Linked DNA regions of Homo sapiens: region 2 is linked to region 1. The links are contacts of gene promoters, found by promoter capture Hi-C in blood cells and fetal thymus (Javierre and others, 2016). All regions are on one chromosome and are shown on one strand. Each heading gives the region's core, a stretch centred on a gene start or on the middle of the fragment in contact. The rest is flanking DNA. Distances are from core to core; before and after follow the strand shown. Region 1 holds the start of RXFP3 (relaxin family peptide receptor 3). Region 2 has its middle 7.3 kb from the start of NPR3.

Region 1 (6,574 bases), core at 1,826-4,325:
TGTACCCACCCTATGCTAGTTTCTATTGCTATTATAACACATGGGCAGAAATGTTGTGGCTTAAAAGAAGGTACATTTATTCTCTCACAGTTCTGGAGATCAGAGATTCAAAATCAGTTTCACTAGAGTAAAGCCAAGATGTCAGAAGAGCTGTTTCCTTCTTGAGGCTTTAGGAGAGAATCCATCTTTTTGCTTAGTTAAGCTTCTAGTGGCTGCAAAGTTCCTTTGGCTGTATAAAGTAACATCCAAGGGCTTGGGAAATGGGATGTGGACATATTTGTGTGTGGGGGGAGGCATTATTCAGCCTACCACCCACCCCTGTGTTGAAAAACAATATGGAAGACTTAGATCCAAATTGGAAAATGGAGCATAGATCAAGAGACATCACTTAAGAGTCAAGACTATGTTTTAGACCGGGTGTGGCTCCTTCCTAGTGGTGAGATTCTTGGTAAATACCTTCATTTCTTCAAGCCTCCTCCGCAAAATGCTGGACCAAAGCAGGTGATTTCTTCCCTTCTATGATCATGGGCTCCCAATGGTTACATGCTAGAGTATGATTTTATGCTGTCCTCATGGCTTCGCATGGCCCACATGGCTTCAGGAACACAAAAGAAGCCCAGAAAAAGGTTTCAAGATCCCATACCCTGCCACTGTGAATGAGAGACAGTTTCTTGATGCTGATTTTCCTCCAGGCCCCCATCACAGCCTGGTTTCAATTTTGGTAAGAAGAGGAACAGAAAAACAGACCACATATGTAACATAACAAGCTCTGCACCCTTCCTCCTTTATGGTTTCTTTAAATACCAACATAGAGTACCCCCTCCCAAAAAACCTAAAACTGGAATATCCCATCAAGGTATAACTATTTATTACCTACCCACCCCTTAAAAAAAAAGGGAAATAATAAAAGAGGTAAAATTATTGTCCACTTATCTGGCATGAATCATTACATTCTAGATAACTTAGTCATGCACAAAACTAAACAAAAAATATAGTTTTAGACACTAGTAGATTGCACACTCATCTAGATTAAGAATTCCAGAGACGCTCAAAATAGAGGACTTATGTCTTTCAGCCTATCTCAGTGCCTGGCAAGAGTAAGTGGCCAATGAATGTGAGATGAATTGAATCAGGCCCCTATAATTTTTTCATAAAGTATGAATATGTACATGTGATTTGGAGCAGACCAAGTAGATATATTCCTGGGTGTGCCTAGAAGCACTGAGAAGCTGTGTATGTGTTAGATGGAGGTCATTGGTGTGAACATACCAAAAATTTAACAGCAGAGAGCTTTCAGGGTATGCCCCAGCTTTTCTTGTGTTTCAACAGCCCCTTGAAATATTAGAAAAGAGAAATAGAGACATAGATGAAGAGAGAGAGAAAATTGATGGAGAAATAACCAGTTAAAAATAAAGTCAAAACTGAGTGTGAAAGTGAGGCTACTAAAACCAGGATAATAGTCATCCATAGAAATAACCTGTGCTTTGGGAGGAATCCTCAGGGCAGGGGTGATCTCCAGGTAAGAACTGATCAAAGGAGATGTTTGTGTTTGGCTAGGTTTTTACTAAAGCCCTTACTCCCTCTAGTGGGAAGACGGAGCTGTGCAGCATCCGTAGCAAGGTGTGTGCTCTTCAGGGCTAAAAGTCCTTTGGAATCAAGATTGTTTCTTGTTTCTTTTTTTTTCTTTTTTCCTTTTTCTCTTTCTTTTCTTTTCTTTCTTTCTTTCTTTCTTTCTTTCTTTCTTTCTTTCTTTCTTTTTCGTTTTTCTCTTTCTTTCTTTTTCTGTTTCTTATCTCCTCAGCTTGAAGGTTGCATCCTCTTTATCTCCTTAAGTAAAGCTGGGAGTTCTGTAGTACTCCAGGAGTGAGGACAATTATGCTTAAGAAACTTTGGTTTCAGTTTAGTCCCAGACCAAGAGGAAAACATTTCAAAATTTTAAAGTAAATCCTAAAAGTGTAATTTACACCAGAGCGATTGACCTGGCATTTATGTAGACTGAAGCTTGAGAAGTAATTCAAGTGGTTTCCACTCATTCCCTTGGAAGAGTCCTTAGAATGTACTTCCATTGGTCTGAAAAACGCCTGAAAAAGAGTCCTGATGCTAACAGTAATGGAAATAGGAGGGCTGGTGGTTCACGATCAGCCCAGTGGTATCCTCTATTCTATTTGCATCTAGGTAAAGAGACTGTGGCCTGTATGTGATCAAACAATTTGTTGAAGCGCTTTGGGCTTAGGGCATTTAATTTCTGTGAAGTAGGACCATCAGTTGTTTGCTCTGTTTTTGTGTCACCTCTCAGAATACATTAAAGTAGGGGCAACCCTTGAGCCCAGACTTCTGCCATGTGAAGACCCTTTGAAAATCCTGACAAACACAGGTACTGCGTAAGTGGTCAGCTAATTAAAGAGGGGAGGTGGAGCTGTCCTTTGTGTATCCAATAAGTACCCATTATCTCATTTGAGCATGAAAAGAGGCCACTGTTATTACTTTCAAGAAGGAAAGTAAGCAGGATAGCTCATATTTTTAGAACAATTCCTCACCAAATGGAATAATTCCGGTGAAAAGTGGGAGTGAGGAAGAAAGAAAAAAAAAACTTCTAATCATAATGTTTGGGAATAAGAAAGGAAGAAGAAACTCACGTCAAAGCCGACTTTCTCCTGCAGCTGTAAAATAAACTCTTAAGACCCTTCCTGCTGAAACTCTGGAGAGGAAAACTGGAGTGGCGGGTGGGCTTTGCCTGCAGCTCAACTCTCCCTCGCGGCGCGGGCGCGGCTGGGTTCAGCACCTCGGAAAGCGCCCCTCGCGGCGCCCCGGGATTACGCATGCTCCTTGGGGCCCGCCGCCTTGGCCGTGCAAGTGCCACCGTAACTGGTGAGAGCCGCTGGCAACCCACCCGGAGTTGACAACCGCGGAGAGACGCAGACACCCACTGACCTCCAGGAAGCTGAGCGTGGTGGATGGAACTCTACGATCTCTTTCTCTCCAAGGACGGAAACCTCATCCAAGCAGTCCCAGAGGAAACGGATAAAGGTATTTGAAAGGGAGCGAGCGGCCCCAAATCGCACAATTGAGCGGCTGGGGGAGTTATGCGCCAGTGCCCCAGTGACCGCGGGACACGGAGAGGGGAAGTCTGCGTTGTACATAAGGACCTAGGGACTCCGAGCTTGGCCTGAGAACCCTTGGACGCCGAGTGCTTGCCTTACGGGCTGCACTCCTCAACTCTGCTCCAAAGCAGCCGCTGAGCTCAACTCCTGCGTCCAGGGCGTTCGCTGCGCGCCAGGACGCGCTTAGTACCCAGTTCCTGGGCTCTCTCTTCAGTAGCTGCTTTGAAAGCTCCCACGCACGTCCCGCAGGCTAGCCTGGCAACAAAACTGGGGTAAACCGTGTTATCTTAGGTCTTGTCCCCCAGAACATGACCTAGAGGTACCTGCGCATGCAGATGGCCGATGCAGCCACGATAGCCACCATGAATAAGGCAGCAGGCGGGGACAAGCTAGCAGAACTCTTCAGTCTGGTCCCGGACCTTCTGGAGGCGGCCAACACGAGTGGTAACGCGTCGCTGCAGCTTCCGGACTTGTGGTGGGAGCTGGGGCTGGAGTTGCCGGACGGCGCGCCGCCAGGACATCCCCCGGGCAGCGGCGGGGCAGAGAGCGCGGACACAGAGGCCCGGGTGCGGATTCTCATCAGCGTGGTGTACTGGGTGGTGTGCGCCCTGGGGTTGGCGGGCAACCTGCTGGTTCTCTACCTGATGAAGAGCATGCAGGGCTGGCGCAAGTCCTCTATCAACCTCTTCGTCACCAACCTGGCGCTGACGGACTTTCAGTTTGTGCTCACCCTGCCCTTCTGGGCGGTGGAGAACGCTCTTGACTTCAAATGGCCCTTCGGCAAGGCCATGTGTAAGATCGTGTCCATGGTGACGTCCATGAACATGTACGCCAGCGTGTTCTTCCTCACTGCCATGAGTGTGACGCGCTACCATTCGGTGGCCTCGGCTCTGAAGAGCCACCGGACCCGAGGACACGGCCGGGGCGACTGCTGCGGCCGGAGCCTGGGGGACAGCTGCTGCTTCTCGGCCAAGGCGCTGTGTGTGTGGATCTGGGCTTTGGCCGCGCTGGCCTCGCTGCCCAGTGCCATTTTCTCCACCACGGTCAAGGTGATGGGCGAGGAGCTGTGCCTGGTGCGTTTCCCGGACAAGTTGCTGGGCCGCGACAGGCAGTTCTGGCTGGGCCTCTACCACTCGCAGAAGGTGCTGCTGGGCTTCGTGCTGCCGCTGGGCATCATTATCTTGTGCTACCTGCTGCTGGTGCGCTTCATCGCCGACCGCCGCGCGGCGGGGACCAAAGGAGGGGCCGCGGTAGCCGGAGGACGCCCGACCGGAGCCAGCGCCCGGAGACTGTCGAAGGTCACCAAATCAGTGACCATCGTTGTCCTGTCCTTCTTCCTGTGTTGGCTGCCCAACCAGGCGCTCACCACCTGGAGCATCCTCATCAAGTTCAACGCGGTGCCCTTCAGCCAGGAGTATTTCCTGTGCCAGGTATACGCGTTCCCTGTGAGCGTGTGCCTAGCGCACTCCAACAGCTGCCTCAACCCCGTCCTCTACTGCCTCGTGCGCCGCGAGTTCCGCAAGGCGCTCAAGAGCCTGCTGTGGCGCATCGCGTCTCCTTCGATCACCAGCATGCGCCCCTTCACCGCCACTACCAAGCCGGAGCACGAGGATCAGGGGCTGCAGGCCCCGGCGCCGCCCCACGCGGCCGCGGAGCCGGACCTGCTCTACTACCCACCTGGCGTCGTGGTCTACAGCGGGGGGCGCTACGACCTGCTGCCCAGCAGCTCTGCCTACTGACGCAGGCCTCAGGCCCAGGGCGCGCCGTCGGGGCAAGGTGGCCTTCCCCGGGCGGTAAAGAGGTGAAAGGATGAAGGAGGGCTGGGGGGGGCCCCATTTAAGAAGTAGGTGGGAGGAGGATGGGCAGAGCATGGAGGAGGAGCCTGTGGATAGGCCGAGGACCTTCTCTGGAGAGGAGATGCTTCGAAATCGGGTGGAGAGAGGAAATTGGCAAAGGGATAGAGACGAGCCCCACGGGCCAGACAGCCAACCTCCGCTCCGCACCCCACAGCCTCTCCTTACTCTTCCCACGCTGAGTAGTGTGGGGGCGCCCAGAAGCGAAGACAAGCAGCAAAAATGTAGAGAAATTGGCACGGGGAGCGGGGCTTAGCCAAATGATGCACAGACAATTGTGCCCGTTTATTCCAGCGACTTCTGCGGAGAGGGCAGCCGTCGGCACAAACACTCCTTTGCGTCTTGGCAAACGAGACTGCAGCAGCGCCAAGGTCCTACTTGCTGCGGGGCTGCCCCAGGAATCTAGAGCTGGTAGGCAAGAAACGCTTTTGGAGTTAAGAAAAAGAACTGACCATCCTGGTCCGCCCACAGGAGAAACGGCAAAGGAAAGCCACCTCCAATGGAGTCATTATGACAATTATCATTCCGGACTGGGCCAGCGGGAACACCCTGAGCCCGACCTAGCTGCACAGCCCCGGAGCTCAGACGTTAGCAGGGGGATAACACCTGTCACCAGCTTGGGAGAGCCATTCTCTGGGGAGTGTCGTCGCTGCGGGAGGGAGGAGACACAGTGTGATTAGAAGGGCTGGACAGGGAAATTTCTTCAGGCTGCTGCCCCAAAAGGTAAAAGGGGGCTCATATGCTCACTTGGTAGCAGAGTTGGAAGTGGAGCGCTGGCGCGTTGCGCGCAGGAAGCTCGGGCGCTCCAGTTCCTCTGAGAGCAGTCTGCGTGCTGCCGGTGAGCTGGGCCCGGAGGCATCTTGAATAGCTCTACTGGGAGGAGTGGGGGCACTTCTTCAGTTCCTCCCTTCCCACGCTTTGGGAATCAAGCTGTTCCTTTGATTGAGGCCCTGGACCAGCGAGTAGAGGGATGGTTCAGTATTTATTTTATTATTAATTTTTTTCTGGTAGGCTTAGATAGAAGAGGAAGAAATACCGCAGAAATGTGCAAGGGGAATTGGGGCGGGGGGCGGGGGGAAGTGGAATCTTGGAAACCAAATTCCTAGAAGCTGGGTCGGATCTCTCAAACAGAGGTGTGGGGTAGGAAAGAAAATAGAAGGTTCAGGTACCATGTTCTAAAGCGAGCAGAGTACTGGGGAAACTGTTCTGAGGGTATCATCAGAATTTCAGTTGTGGGCTTTTTTATTGCTTATATTATTGACAAGAGAAGGTAGGAAATAGTAATTCCCATCGGACATTACCATCACCAATTTCCATTTATTCTAAAGAGTGCTTTACATATTAAGCATGCATGACAAATTCTTTCCCAGCCTCCAGACAGTTTATGGAGCTGTCTCTGAAGACCGCCTCACATTTCTCATGTTGACTCTGTTTTGATCACAGGAGCTTAAGATGTTAAACCCTCACAAAGTCCTTTCTTGAGGCTCTTCTAAGAACTGGGATCAAACATCAGTCTACCTACCCCTCTGCTGGCTTTCATAGAGGTACTGCTACTCTCTTCGGCAACCTGGTTTGGGGCCAAAAAACCAATGATGCAGGCACCCACCAGGGTGGTTGGTT
Region 2 (6,574 bases), core at 2,262-4,761, 1.2 Mb before region 1:
GCTGCATAGTATTCCATGGTGTATATGTGCCACATTTTAATAATCCAGTCTATCATTGATGGACATTTGGATTGGTTCCAAGTCTTTGTTATTGTGAATAGTGCCACAATAAACATACATGTGCATGTGTCTTTATAGTAGCATGATTTATAATCTCCTGGGTATATACCCAGTAATGGGATGGCTGGGTCAAATGGTATTTCTAGTTCTAGATCCTTGAGAAATCGCCACACTGTGTTCCACAATGGTTGAACTAATTTACACTTCCACCAACAGTGTAAAAATGTTCCTCTTTCTCCACATCCTCTCCAGCATCTGTTATTTCCTGACTTTTTAATGATCACCATTCTAACTGGCGCGAGATGGTATCTCATTGTATTTTTGATTTGCATTTCTCTGATGACCACTGATGATGAGCATTTTTTCAAGTGTCTGCTGGCTGTTTTTTTATTATTATTTTTTCTTTTGTTTCCTCTGACTATGTATTTTCAAATATCCTGTCCTCATGTTCACTAGTTTTTTCTTCTGCATGATCACTTCTGCTGTTAAGAGACTCTGATGCATTCTTCAGTAGGTCAATTGCATTTTCAACTCCAGAATTTCTCCTTGATTCTTTTAAATTATTTCAATGTGTTTGTTGAATTTATCTTATAGGACTGTGAATTCCTTCCCTGTGTTATCTTGGATTTCATTGAGCTTCCTCAAAACAGCTATTTTGAATTCTCTGTCTGAAAGATCACGTATCTTTGTCTTCCCAGGATTGATCCTTGTTGCCTTATTTAGTTCATTTGGTGAGGTCATGTTTTCCTAGATGATCTTGATGCTTGTGGGTGTTTGTCAGTGTCTGGGCATTGAAGAGTTAGGCATCTATTGTAGTCTTTGCAGTCTGGGCTTCTTTACACACATCCTTCTTGGGAAGGCTTTCCAGGTATTCAAAGGGACTTGGGTATTGTAATCTAAGTTTTTGGTCACTGCATCTGTATCTGCATTAGGCGGCATCCCAAGCTCAGTCATGCTGTGGCTTTTGCAGACTTATATAGGTACTGCCTTGGTGGTCTTGGATGAGACACGAAAGAGTACTCTGGATTACCAGGCAGAGACTCTTCTTCTCTTCCATTTATTTTCTGCCAAACAAACGGAGTCTCTCTCTCTGTGCTGAGCTGCCTGAAGCCAGGGAATGCTGACATAAGTATCTCTGTTGTGGCCACCACCACTGGGACTGTGCTGGGTCAGATCTGAAGCGAGCATAGCAGTGGGTATTGCCCAAGGTCTGTAGTAACCACTGCCTTGCTACCAGTTAGGTTCACTCAAGGCCCTGAGGCTCTACAATTAACAGGTGGAAAAGCCAGCCAGGCTTGTGTTCTTCTCTTCAGGATGCTGAGTTCCCCCTGCCCCTGGGTAGGTTCAGAGATGCCATCCAGGAGCCAGGGCCTAAAGTTGGAAACCTTAGGATCTACCTGGCGCACTAGTCTACTGCGGCTGAGCTGGTACCCAAGCCACATAACAAATTCTTTTTTTAAATTTTATTATTATTATACTTTAAGTTTTAGGGTACATGTGCACAATGTGCAGGTTAGTTACATATGTATACATGTCCCATGCTGGTGTGCTGCACCCAATAACTCGTCATTTAGCAGTAGGTATATCTCCTAATGCTATCCCTCCCCCCTCCCCCCACCCCACAACAGTCCCCAGAGTGTGATGTTCCCCTTCCTGTGTCCATGTGTTCTCATTGTTCAATTCCCACCTATGAGTGAGAACATGCGGTGTTTGGTTTTTTTTGTCCTTACGATAGTTTACTGAGAATGATGATTTCCAATTTCATCCGTGTCCCTACAAAGGACATGAACTCATCATTTTTTATGGCTGCATAGTATTCCATAGTGTATATGTGCCACATTTTCTTAATCCAGTCTGTCATTGTTGGACATTTGGTTTGGTTCCAAGTCTTTGCTATTGTGAATAGTGCCACAATAAGCATACGTGTGCATGTGTCTTTACAGCAGCATGATTTGTAGTCTTTTGGGTATATACCCAGTAATGGGATGGCTGGGTCAAATTGTATTTCTAGTTCTAGATCCCTGAGGAATCGCCACACTGACTTCCACAATGGTTGAACTAGTTTACAGTCCCACCAACAATGTAAAAGTGTTCCTATTTCTCCACATCCTCTCCAGCACCTGTTGTTTCCTGACTTTTTAATGATTGCCATTCTAACTGGTGTGAGATGGTATCTCATTGTGGTTTTGATTTGCATTTCTCTGATGGCCAGTGATGGTGAGCATTTTTTCAGCCACATGACAAATTCTGTGCCACTATTCCTTTCCCTTTTCATAAGCAAAGGAATCTCTCCATATGGTCATCACCACTTCAGGATTATGATGAGTACTTCCTGGCTACTGCTGATGTTCACTCATGGCCCAAGCACTCTTCAGTTAGCTTGTCATAAATGCTGGGCCTGGGAGTCTCCCTTCAGGGCACTGGGCTCCCCTCTGGCCCAGGGAGTATCCATAAATGCCATCTAATGGCATCTTGGGGTCTCCATTTCCAAGAGCCAAGGCCTGGAACTGGGGACCCCAAAAGCCCGTTTAGTGTTCTATGCCACTGTGGCTGAGCTGGCACTTAAGCTTTGAGACAAAGCCCCCTTTACTATTCCCTTTCCTTTTCTCAAGCAGAAGGAGTCTCTCCCAGTAGTCACCATGGCTGGGAATGTGCTGGGCCACACCTAAAGCCAGCATAGCCCTGGGTTTCACCAAAGGCCCACAGCAAATACTTCCTGGCTATTACTGCTGACTATTCAGGGCCCAAAGGCTCTTTAGACTGCAGGTGATAAATCCTGCCAGGACTGGGTCCTTCCCTTCAAGGCAGCAGGTTCCCTCCTTGCCCAGAATATTTCTAGAAATGTCATCTGGGAGCTAGGGCCTGGAATGGGGGCCTCAGGACTCCTTTTGGTGGCCTATCCTACTGTGGCTGAGCTGGTAGCCAAATTGCAAGACAGTCCTCTTTTCTCTTCCATTTCTTCTCCTCAAGTGGAAGGAAGGAGTCTCTTGTGGAGCTGCAAGCTGCACTGCCTGGGGTTGGGAGAGGGTGGGGTGCAAGCACTGCCTTGGCCATCCTGGCTGGTGTCTCACTAGGTCATGTGTCCCCCACATCCACTGGCTCCACGCCTAGCACAGCACCAGGACTTGCCCACAAATTGCAGTCCCTGTGGCCTAGACTGTCTTTCAAGTTTATTTAGAACCCAAAGCACTTTAGCCCACTGTGGCAAGGCTTGTTGTATCTCAGGTTCCAACCACTAGGATGGATGATTCCCCTTTGGTTAGGGCTAGTGTAAATGCTCCCTTCATGGGCACTGGCTGAGTTCTGCCCAGTATTTCTTTCTGCTGTTAAAAGGCAGCACTGGGTCCCAGTGCAAAGTCCCACAGTCATTGCACTCTGTCTCTCAAGTGCACAGATTCTCTCTCCACACCACATGGCTGCTGCTGGGGGATGGGGGAAGGTTGGCATTGGCAATTCAAGGCTGTCTTTCCTACCCTTTTTTAATGCCCCTTTCAGTGATATGAAATGAAAACCAGGTACTGTGATTTATCATCTGGTTTTTGGTTCTTATGAAGTGTTCTTTTGGCTCTTTGTGTGTGTGTGTGTGTGTGTGTGTGTGTGTGTATAGTTGTTCAATTTGGTGTTCCTGTGGGGACGACAACTGGTGGGGGCTTCTATTTAGCCAGCTTGCTCTGTCTTCCAAATGATATCTCTATTTTAGAAATGAGAAAATTGAGAAAGTGAAGGTTAAACAGGTTAAGTGATAATGCGCAGACATTTTGATGAGGCTTCTAAATGCATGATCTTAACACAGTATACCACCCTGGAGACTGGATCCCAACCCAGACATATTTTCCTGCAAATGGAAATACAATTTGGTGTGATCACAAATCTGAGCAATGTTATGGAAACTGAGATGGGAGAGGAGATCATTTCTGAGGCCATTACAAGAGAGTAAGACCCAATGGCTCTGCAACATGCGCTGGCGTTTGCACATGGCCCAGTGCCCATTTCCTGCACTCCCCAGCCAGGGCAGGAAAGTTTTCTAAAATTTGATTTTATGTATTTGTGTGCTTTCTCAAATCCTTTTTGGAAGAAGGCAGCGTACAACTAAATAAATCCATTAAACATAGTCAGTATTGGTATGCATGAAGTTGAAGTGCATATAAGTGGTCTTCAAAAAGTTTGTGGAATATGTGTATTATGAAAAAAACTATGCATAGATTTCAAAATTATTTTTTAACAAACTTATACTAACTTTTTATGACATGTCTGAATAGGATTCAATTTGAGGCACTATCAGAGCAAAATGAATTCTGCTGAAATTGAAGCAAGGGGAAACATTAAATTTACAGTGAAGCTTGGGTTGAAAAATGCTGAAGTAATTGATGCTTTAAAAAAAGCTTGTGGGGACAATGCCTTAAGGAAATCAGAAGTTTACAAATAGATAACTCATTCTGAGAAAGGACAAGATAATGTTGATAATGAAGCCCACAGTGGCAGACCATCCACATCAAGTTTTGAGAAAAAACAAACTAACCAACCAATCTTGTTTGTGCCTGTATTAGTCTATTCTCACACTGCTATAAAGAAATACCTGAGATTGGGTAATTTATAAAGAAAAGAGGTTTAATTGGCTCACAGTTCTACAGGCTGTACAGGAAGCAGGATGATGGCAGTCTGCTCAGCTTCTGGGGAGACCTCAGGAAACTTACAATCATGGCAGAAGGCAAAGGGGAAGTAGGCATGTCTTACATGGCTAGAGCAGGAGGAAGAGGGATGGGGAGGGGGAGATGCTACACACTTTTAAACAACTAGATTTTATGAGAACTCTATCACCATGACAGCACCAAGGGGGATGGTGTTAAACCATGAGAAACTGCCCCCGTGACCCAATCACCTCCCACCAGTCCCCTTTTCAAATATTGGGGATTACAATTCAACATGAGATTTGGGGAGGGACACAGATTCAAACCATATCAATGGGGAAGACCAGCGATTAACAGCAGAAACAATAATCAACGCCATAGATATCTCAATTGGTTCAGCTTCCACATTTCCAATGGAAAAATTAAAGTTCAGCAAATATTCCAGTCAATGGGTGCCAAAACTGTTGCAGCCAGATTAGTTGAAGACAAAAGCAGAACTTTCAATGGAAATTTTAAACAAGTGAAATATCCCAAAGCATTTATTTGGAGAATTGTCCCTGCCAAATCTCATGCTGAATTGTAATCCCCAATGTCAGTGGCGGGGCCTGGTGGGAGATGTTTGGGTCATGGGGGCGTATCCCTCATGACTTGGTGCTGTCCTTGGCAATAGTGAGTGAATTCTCATGAGATCTGGCTGTTTAAGTGTGTGGCACCTCCCTGCCAACCCTGCACTCTGTCTCAGCATGTGAGGTGCCTGCTCCCCCTTCGCCTTCTGCCATTCTTGTAAGCTTGCTGAGGCCCTCGTCGGAAGCCGAGCAGATTCTGGTGCCATGCTTCTTGTACATCCTGCAGAACCATGAGCTAATTAAACAACTTTTCTTTATAAATTAACCAGTCTCAGTTATTTCCTTATTTCAATGCAAAAATGGCCTAATACACAGGGGGATGAAACACTGCTTTACCAACATGATCCTGAAGACAAACACAATTAAAGCAGTGGCTACCAAGAGGTGGAAGTGGTCAAGAGCCAAGGTTATGGCAATGGTTTCTTGAAATGCTTAAGGCATTTTGCTTGTTGACTTTCTGGAGGATCAAAGAATGGTAACTTTTGTTTATTTTGAGAGTGTTTTGATAAAGTTAGTCAAAACTTTGCCTAGAAATGTCTGGGAAAGTTTCGCCAGAGACTTCTTCCCCACCACGACAATATTCCTGCTCATTTCTGTCATCAAACAAAGGTGATTTTGTGAGAGTTTTGATGGGAAATCATTAGGTATCTACCTTATAGTCCTGATTTGGCTCCTTCTGACTTCTCTTTGTTTCCTGATCTTAAATAAATTTGTAAAGGGCACTCATTTTTTATTTTTTTCAGTTAATAAAGATTGCATTGACATGCTTAAGTTTCCAGGACCCTTGGTTTTTTAGGGATAAACTACATGGTTGGGATCACCACTCAGAAGAGTGTCTTGAACTTGATGAATCTTTTGTTAAGAAATAAAGTTCATATTTTAAATTTTTATCTTTTAATTCCATTTTACATGAACTTTTTGAAGTCCCCATTCACACTCGTTTTTGTGAATATAATAATCTACATAAATTAACTTGTCTATAAATCAATGATATGAGAATTCTTCATATAGCTTGCAAATCTTATGCCAGTATTCAGGTTAAATCACTGACTAGCTATACGTTTTTCAGAAGTCTTTCTAATGTCACTTTGCCTCAGAACATCTTCAAAGAAGTGAAAAAAAGATGGTAGTTGATGGAAATCTAAGAGGATTATAATAAAGAAACAACTCTGTGTTTTCAAAAGAACCCCTTAAGGTCACATTTAGCTGCAGCTTCTGATGAGATTGAATTATAAATTTAATTAGAAAAATATAAAATTA

The links. The method cuts DNA at HindIII sites, captures the fragments that hold promoters and counts their contacts. A CHiCAGO score of 5 or more calls a contact.
Region 2: a fragment that was not itself captured here is called in contact with the fragment with the promoter of RXFP3 in region 1 in 1 of 17 cell types (M0 macrophages); the score reaches 6.4 in M0 macrophages.

What each region holds. Positions count from the first base shown.
Region 1 is chr5:33,933,311-33,939,884 of GRCh38, forward strand. It overlaps RXFP3 (relaxin family peptide receptor 3), which reads left to right and starts at 3,076. Exons shown (of 1, transcript NM_016568.3): 1 at 3,076-5,608. The coding sequence starts at 3,431. The coding sequence ends at 4,840. The HindIII fragment of the contact is 5,701 bases long and covers 2,000-6,574 here.
Region 2 is chr5:32,700,741-32,707,314 of GRCh38, forward strand. It overlaps a transcript of NPR3 not described here. Among named protein-coding and RNA genes, the nearest start is that of NPR3, 7.3 kb to the right of the region's middle. The HindIII fragment of the contact is 1,772 bases long and covers 2,626-4,397 here.